Regions from separate parts of the Homo sapiens genome. Here region 1 is linked to region 2. Evidence: promoter capture Hi-C in human tissues and cell types (Jung and others, 2019). All regions are on one chromosome and are shown on one strand. The core of a region is centred on a gene start or on the middle of the fragment in contact, and the rest is flanking DNA. Distances in the headings are between cores, read along the strand shown.

Evidence for each region. The method cuts DNA at HindIII sites, captures the fragments that hold promoters and counts their contacts. A contact is called where the count stands out against the background at its distance.
Region 1: a fragment that was not itself captured here is called in contact with the fragment with the promoter of ACAA2 in region 2 in 1 of the 25 tissues and cell types used here (dorsolateral prefrontal cortex).

Annotation. Positions count from the first base shown.
Region 1 is chr18:48,623,297-48,627,255 of GRCh38, reverse strand. All of the region lies in intron 2 of CTIF (cap binding complex dependent translation initiation factor), which reads right to left. Among named protein-coding and RNA genes, the nearest start is that of MIR4743, 45 kb to the left of the region's middle. RefSeq lists an enhancer at 3,905-3,959. The HindIII fragment of the contact is 3,233 bases long and covers 708-3,940 here.
Region 2 is chr18:49,811,832-49,815,830 of GRCh38, reverse strand. ACAA2 (acetyl-CoA acyltransferase 2) reads left to right here and starts at 2,298. Exons shown (of 10, transcript NM_006111.3): 1 at 2,298-2,362. The coding sequence starts at 2,347. SNHG22 (small nucleolar RNA host gene 22) reads right to left here and starts at 1,808. Exons shown (of 4, transcript NR_117096.1): 1 at 1,769-1,808. It also overlaps SCARNA17. RefSeq lists silencers at 1,786-1,955, 2,198-2,492, 2,386-2,505. The HindIII fragment of the contact is 6,306 bases long and covers 1-3,581 here.

The DNA.
Region 1 (3,959 bases), core at 1,075-3,574, 1.2 Mb after region 2:
TAAATGTTAGCTTTCATTCTATTATATTTTACCACCTAGCAGAAAAAGAGCAAATTTAAATAGTTACACTTTATGCTAAAAACCACCACCAAACAATGTCTAGGAGATCATTAAAACCTACAGATCATAAAACTTACATGTATGCTAGAAGTACAACTTTGTAAAAGATGTTTAAAAAATGATGCACAAAAATTATATTAGTTGCCATAAAATGATTTTTTTCCATTTTTCACTTGCCTCTGTTTTTCCAATTGTTACTTTGAGAAAATAAAATTTTATCCTATTAAAAAGTAATTGGTGGCCAGGCACAGTGGCTCACGCCTGTAATCCCAACACTTTGGGAGGCCGAGCAGGGTGGATCACCTGAGGTCAGGAGTTCAAGACAAGTCTGGCCAAAATGGTGAAACCCTGTCTTTACTAAAAATACAAAAAATTAGCCAGGCATGGTGGCAGGCACCTGTAATCACAGCTACTCGGGAGGCTGAGGCAGGAGAATCGCTTGAACCCGGGAGGCAGAGGTTGCAGTGAGTCAAGATCACACCATTGCACTCCAGCCTCGACAACAAGAGCAAAACTTTGTCTCAAAAAAAAAAAAAAAACAAAAAAAAAACGGCCAGGTGCGGTGGCTCATGACTGTAATCCCAGCACTTTGGGAGGCCATGGGAGGGGATCACAAGTCAGGCATTCGACACCAGCCTGGCCAACATAGTGAAACTCCGTCTCTACTAAAAATACAAAAAATTAGCCAGGCGTGGTAGCACACGCCTGTAATCCCAGCTATTTGGGAGGCTGAGGCAGGAGAATCACTTGAACCTGGGAGGCAGAGGTTGCAGTGAGCCGAGAGCATGCCATGGCAATCTAGCCCGGGCGATAGTGCAAGACTCATCTCAAAAAAAAAGAAAAAAAGAAAATAAAAAGATTGGTAATTCAATTTCATTAGAAATAAAGACAATGTGGCCGGGCGCGGTGGCTCACGCCTGTAATCCCAGCACTTTAGGAGCCCGAGGCAGGTGGATCACCTGGGTCAGGAGTTCAAGACCAACCTGATCAATATGGTGAAACCCCATCTTTACTAAAAATACGAAAATTAGCCAGGTGTGGTGACATGTGCCTGTAGTCCCAGCTACTCGGGAGGCTGACAGGAGAGTTGCTTGAACCTGCGGTGGGGGGAGGTTGCAGTGAGCTGAGATCGCGCCACTACACTACAGCCTTGGTGACAGAGTGAGACTCCATCTCAAAAAAAAAAAAAAAAAAAGAAAGAAAAAGAAATAAGACAATGTGAATTAAAATGACAAGATGTCCCAATACACTGGTGGCAGTATGGATAATGGAAGATCTTTGGAGAGCACTTTAACAACAGCTATTAAAATTAATTTTACTTCTCAGCATCTAACTAAAGAAACTCCATTATTTGTGCAGAAGGAGGCATGTTCAACAGTATGTGTTGAAGTATCACGTATTTCCAGGGGAAAATTTAGAAGTAACCTGAGTGCCTACCATTAAGCAAATGGTTAAATAAATCCATGCTATGGACAACTGGGCAGCCACTAAACGGAACACAGCAGATGTGCAAGCCCAGAAGAATCTCTGGGGCATGTGGGCAGGTGAAAAATGCAAGTTATTGAACAATATATCCACTGGCTATGATATATGATTTGACAATATTGTATTTCTTCAAGTCATACCTATGTCAGGAAAGGCATTAAAAAAGGCAAGGAAATGAACTCACTCATCTGATGGGAGGTAGGAGTAAGGGAGCAGAATGAGGTGGTAGCACAGAAGATTTTATTGTTAATATTTGAATTCTTATGTACCATGATAATGTATGCATAAAGGACTTGTATAATTTAAAATAATTTTAGCTCAGGAGAATTTAATTATTAATATCTGAATTCTTGTGCACTATGGGAATGTATGCATAAAGTACTTGTATAATTTAGAATACATTTTTTAAATAAGGGGAAAATATATAATAAATCCCCCATGCTGAACCACCCCGCAGTCCTCCTATAAACTCACTTCTTCTGTTAAGCCTTTCATGGGTGGTCCACCATTGAGTACTTCCTCCTGTGAGCAAAGACATCAGGAAAAATGAATTTAAGGGCAGAAGGAAATGAAGAGATGGGATTTTAGAAAAAGGGCGAGGGAACAGTGAACAGGGAAGGCAGAATGAAAGGAGAGACGTAAAGAGAAAGAGGAGAAACTTGTTAGGAAAAGCCATTGAGCCGATCTGAACACTCTCACCCTATCCTATTCATTGCCACTGCTGCACCCCTTTGTAAAGATCACTGCATTTTAGATGAAACCCAGGGTTTCCAAGTGCCGGAAAGCATCAAAATAGGGCTATAGGAAGTGATCTTCACTCTCACTGGCTCTTAATTTGACCCCTTAACAAGAATTTACTGGAAACTATGCTGTCATTAAATGTATCTTCATAGGGTTCCTACATGTTATCTTTCCAAGAGACTGGATCGGGGCAGCAGGCCATGGAGGGGGAGAAAGGAGACAGCCCTGCTCCCACTGTGGCAATCAGAGTCATGCACAGGCTTATGAATAGTTCAGGCCCAGGCCCCTCACCTTTGCCTGCATCTCTAGCAGTGGGGCCTGTACATCAGTATTTCTCACAGCTCCCTAAGTGAGTTCATGCTCGCTCAGAGTTGCATACTGCTTCCAAGCTTTCTGGTGATCCACTAGATCATCCACGAACATCACATGTGCCAAAATTTTCCCCACTTACAACATCCTAATCTCTTCCCCAAAAGATTAGTGGTCAATGAGATTTGGAGACCTAATTTTCTTTCTATAGGAAAGAAATCTATATTAACCACCCAACACCCAATCAGTCATGGCCTGTACGGAGCAGGAAACCAGAAGTAGGTGGGGTGGGGATGGGGCTCCAGAGCCCAGCTCAGCCACCACCCAGCAGTGGGGTTTGGCCATGCTCCATTTCTGTGCCTCAGTTTCCCTCCTTTAGAATAGGGCTAAAATCCCTCCTCCTCCCAAGGATAGAGTGACTGTGGGGACTTCCAATCTATTGGACAGCAGGTGCTCCTGAAACATGGGGGAGGGGTACGATGTAAAATACGGGGGAGGGGCGTGGTGTCAAGCATGGGGAGGGGCGTGGTGTCAAGCATGGGGAGGGGTGTGGTGTCAAGCATGGGGAGGGGCGTGGTGTCAAACATGGGGAGGGGCGTGGTGTCAAGCATGGGGAGAGGTATGATGTTAAACATGGCATCCAGAAAATGTTGGCAAACTTAAAACACACATTGTCTTGGTTATTCATCTAAGAGACAGGAAAACTGATCTATCTATCTATCTTATCTATCTATTATCTATGTATTATCTATCTGTCTGTCTATCCATCCATCCAGCCAGCCAGCCATCCATCCATCCATCCATCCATCCATCCTTCATTTCTTTCTAGTTGTTACTGGGAAGGACGAGAGGAACACAAGTGTACAAACATCATGAGATATTTTCTCCCTGAGTGTCAACTGTCACTTCTCAGATCCTAAAAAATGACCTCACCAGCTGAAGAGCAACATTCCTCTCCACTCCCTCAGGTCTTCTCAAGGTTTCCAAGCTTCTTAACAAATTTCCTCCCCAGAAACATCAAAATACCACACAGGCAGACAGGAACATTCCCTGAGTGTTTGCTGTTTTTTTTTTTCTTTTTGGCTTCCATTTAAACTAGTCATCAGATTAAAAAAAAAAACAAGCCAAAGTGCTTTAGCAGAAATATTTCCCATAAAGCTGTGTTAATAGAGAATTTTTTTAAAAAGTATCTTATGTAGACACAGCTAACCCTGGCCTTCCTGAGAGTGGGCCACAGCCGTCCCTCTTCCAGAGTCGGTACCCCAGGTGTGTGTGTGACTGTGGGGATCGGGGAGGCAGGGGCGCGGTAGGGGCAGGATTGAAACATCCTCCCTTTCCGGCAGCAGCAGGCAGGCCTGCAGGCC
Region 2 (3,999 bases), core at 1,049-3,548:
TAATTAAGGATCTCATACAATATGTGTCACATATCTAGTCTCCTTTAATGTGATACTATTCCTATTTTAGCCATTTTTTGTTTTTCACCACACTGATGTTTTTAAAGAGTTCAGGTCAGTTGTTCTGTGGAATGTACCTCCATGTGGATTTGTCTCATTGTTTCCTTATAATTAGATTCAGGCCAGATGTTTTCAGCAGAAATTCTACGCAAGTGAGATTGTGTTGTCGCTGTAGCAAGGGGAGCGCATGACGTCAGTCTGTCCCTTTATTGGTGATGGGACACCATTACTTCATAATTTGGTGAAGTAATACCCGCAAGATTTATCCATTGTAAAGGTACCCTTTCCTCTTCATGAGACTTGGAGACTATGTCAATATTCTCTCATATATTTACGTGTTTTAATATATGTAAACCTTTCACTGAATGGTGTTAGAATCCACTCATTAGTGACATTTCCAATTAGAGAAAACACAGTACATCTATAAAGACCTACTGATGGTGATCTGCAGTGGGAAGTTGTGATACTTAACCTTTCTTAAATATGTAGAGGCAAACTGAATAGAAAACTGTGTACAAAAATGAACACTCTATACATGAGCATTTTTTTTTTTTTTTTTTTTGAGACGGAGTCTTGCTCTGTCACCCAGGCTGGAGTGCAGTGGCACGATCTCGGCTCACTGCAAGCTCCGCCTCCCAGGTTCACACCATTCTCCTGCCTCAGCCTCCCCAGCAGCTGGGACTACAGGCGCCCGCCACCACGCCCAGCTAATTTTTTTGTATTTTTAGTAGAGATGAGGTTTCACCGTGTTAGCCAGGATGGTCTCGATCTCCTGACCTCGTGATCCGCCCACCTCGGCCTCCCAAAGTGCTGGGATTACAGGCGTGAGCCACGGCGCCCGGCCTATACATGAGCATTTGTGAAGCTTGTCTAAGATTTGTACATTTGATTGCGTGGATATTTTGCCTTAAAAAGAACTGTAAATGAATAATGTGTGCTGATGTGTTCATGGGTGTAGAGTACTAAGGTCTGCATTAAAAAGATAAGATGGTTTGATGGAAGAACAGGTGGATAGCAATATAGCAAAATGTTAACAATTGGGTCGATATGTGTCCACTGTACAAGTCTTCCCACTTTTCTGTAAGTTTGTAAGTTTTCATAATACAAATTTGGATTTAAAAACACCCCAACATTGCAAGAGTGTCACCAAAGTGTTTGAAAAGCAGGATTCTAGGGGGGGCATTCGCTGACGACTCAGAGAAACCGTCCATGCCACCCACCACCCCTACGCACTCAAAAGAAGCCCTCGCTAGGCAGCCCGGCCCTCCGAGCCCTGGTATCGAGGGGCTCTCCGCCTCTCCCCTGCCGCGGCCGCCTCCTGCTTGCCCGGCCTCAGTCTGTTCTCAGAACATACTCCATCACCTGGTTCCCAGAACTCAGATTGCGCAGTGGTCTCGTCATCATCGGCCAGGACTCACAGTGCCCGCGGCAGAGGCCTCCCTAGACCTCCCTCCCGTCCAGCCTCACCCGCTGCCTACTCTCCTCACGCCCCTGCTCCAGGTCCCCTGGCCCCATTTCGCTCGCCACGTTTTCATAATCCTCTCAGGCTCCGGGCAAGCGGCGCCGCCCGCAATGGGACCTGATCATATAAGGAAAATACTGCGGGCTCATCCGGGGGCTGCAATGGGGACCCGAAAGCGCCCTAGCCTACTACAATCACCGCACCCCAACTGCCGCCCACCTCTCTGCCCTGCCCCCAGTACAGTACCCAAAACCGGTCCGGGTCCAGCTCGGCGGCCCAAGCCTCTGCCCAGCGGACTGCGCACCCGCCCGCCCCAGCCAATCCCGCCGCCGCCGCCGCGCCCCGCCCACAGGACGTTCGGTCCCGCCCCCAGCTGGCGGCCGCGGCCGCCCGCGCGCCAAGTTCCTCAGCCCTTGGCTCCTGCCCAGTGTTTAGGGTGTTGGCGGAGACAAAGGGGAAGAGTCATCGCCTGTCGGGGCTAGGATATGATGGGTGAGAGGTGTCAAACCAAATTCTCTCGGTTTGGAAACGGAGAAAATCTAAAAATGAGGATGTGAGGAAAGAGTCCGCTCTCAAGGCGCGTTGTGGTCTATCCGAGCCCCGTCCCCTGGGCTCCCTCGGGCTGGGGTGAGGCGGGCAGCGCTACGCGTGGGGTAGGACCATCTTACGCTGGGACCCCGCCAAGGAGCCCCAGGAAGTAGGTGAAAGGGCAGGGGCGTGGCTCTCGGGGCGCCACCCACGCTCTTGAAATCTGGGTGATTGCGAGCGGCCGCTCAGCGTCCCCCACACCACAGACCCGCGCCGCCGACGACCCAGCAGCCGCCATGGCTCTGCTCCGAGGTGAGCGCAGCCCCCTCCTCCTCTCCTCGCCCCTCGGGGTCCTGCCCTCCCCAGGCCAGGCCTCCGCTTCCGGCCGCCGCGGAGAGTCGGGGTCGTGGGGTGAAGTTCACTCAACCTCCTCGGTTTTGGAGCGGACGTGATAAAAACCCAGCCCGAAAGGCTTGTTTGGGTTAAGGAGAAAACCCTTACTTGTAAGGCGCTAGCGACAGCGATTTCGGTGCAATTTCCTGTTTAGTTGAGACCAAAGTTTGCTTGCATGTGACCTTGGAGGTCATTCCTTTCTTCGCCTAACAGTGACCCCACTAGTTCGAGTCCAAGTATTAGAAAAAATGGGGCGGCGCCATAGGCCGCGGGCGCCTGCTGCGGGGCAGCTGCGCACAGGAGCCCGCCGCTCGGCCTCGGTGGTCAGGGCTCCCCGGGTGAATCGATGGAGAGGCCTGCAGAAATGGTAGCTGGTGTTCTGCTGGAAGACCTGCCCTGCTCCCATTTCCCTTCTGTTGCTTTAGATTAGAGCGGTCACTCTATACCTAAGTTCTAGGGTTATGAACTTGTTTAAAACAACTGTGTAATAAACTCCCTTTTCAAAACAAGTGGGCACAGTCAATGGAATCTTACTTTAAGGATGTACGAGTCGAAGAACATTGAGGTGGAATACATATCGAGGCCCTGAGACAGGAAAAAGCTTGGCAGGATCTAAGAACCAAGCATTTTGGTGCTCCAGGGCCCTGTGGGCTCTGTAAGAAGGTGGGGTTTTGTTCCAAATTCAGTGGAAGGCAATACAGGGATTTAAAGCGGGGTAATGACAGGATCTGATTTCCACTCTGTCCGAATTTGGGGCGGTCTGTGTAATGGCGAAGAGACCATTTAAGGATCTATTGTAGAGGTCCAGGGAGCAGCAAATGATGGCTTTGACTCGTGTGGGGCAGTGTAATTGGGGAGAAAAGGGGAGGGATGAGTTGAGATAGATTTGGAGGTGGATTTGATAGAAAGTGGATTGGATGTGGTGGAGTAAATATAAGAAGGAAATGTCGAGAATGATGAAAAGTGTCTGGTTTGATGAACCGTGTTCATGATGATGCCACTTTACAGAGTGAGGAAAATTGGGAAAGGAATAGATGTGGAAAGAAGGATTGAGAATTCAGTTTTAGGCAGAAAACTTTTTGGTGCCTGTGAAGCAGCCAAGTGGAGATGCCAGCTAAGCATTGGTTAGGGGGATCTGAAAGTGAGAAGAACCAAAGTGGCATGGGAACAAATCAAGGGAAAAATCCGTATTCTGGGACCAAATGCAGTGTTTACAGTTTCCTGCAACGTGGATTTCATTTGCCAGTGCCCTTCCTGACTGAATTTACTACATTTACTTCATAAAGCAGCGTGGTGAATTTTTTTTAGACGAGGCATTTACACTTCATTTAAAAGGTGCATTGTCATGAGCTATCTTCTAAAAAAGGAAATAATATTTTTACTGATATCATTTTAATATTTTATCAGTGGTTCTTACCCTTTCTTATAATACAGACCTGTTTGAAAATTTCACAAATACTATAAACCCAAAAAGGAAAAAAATGCACATTGACACCTGTATTAAGGAAGTATAAAGTTTATAAATTTCTGGTACAATTTACTGTAGTGTTAGAGCT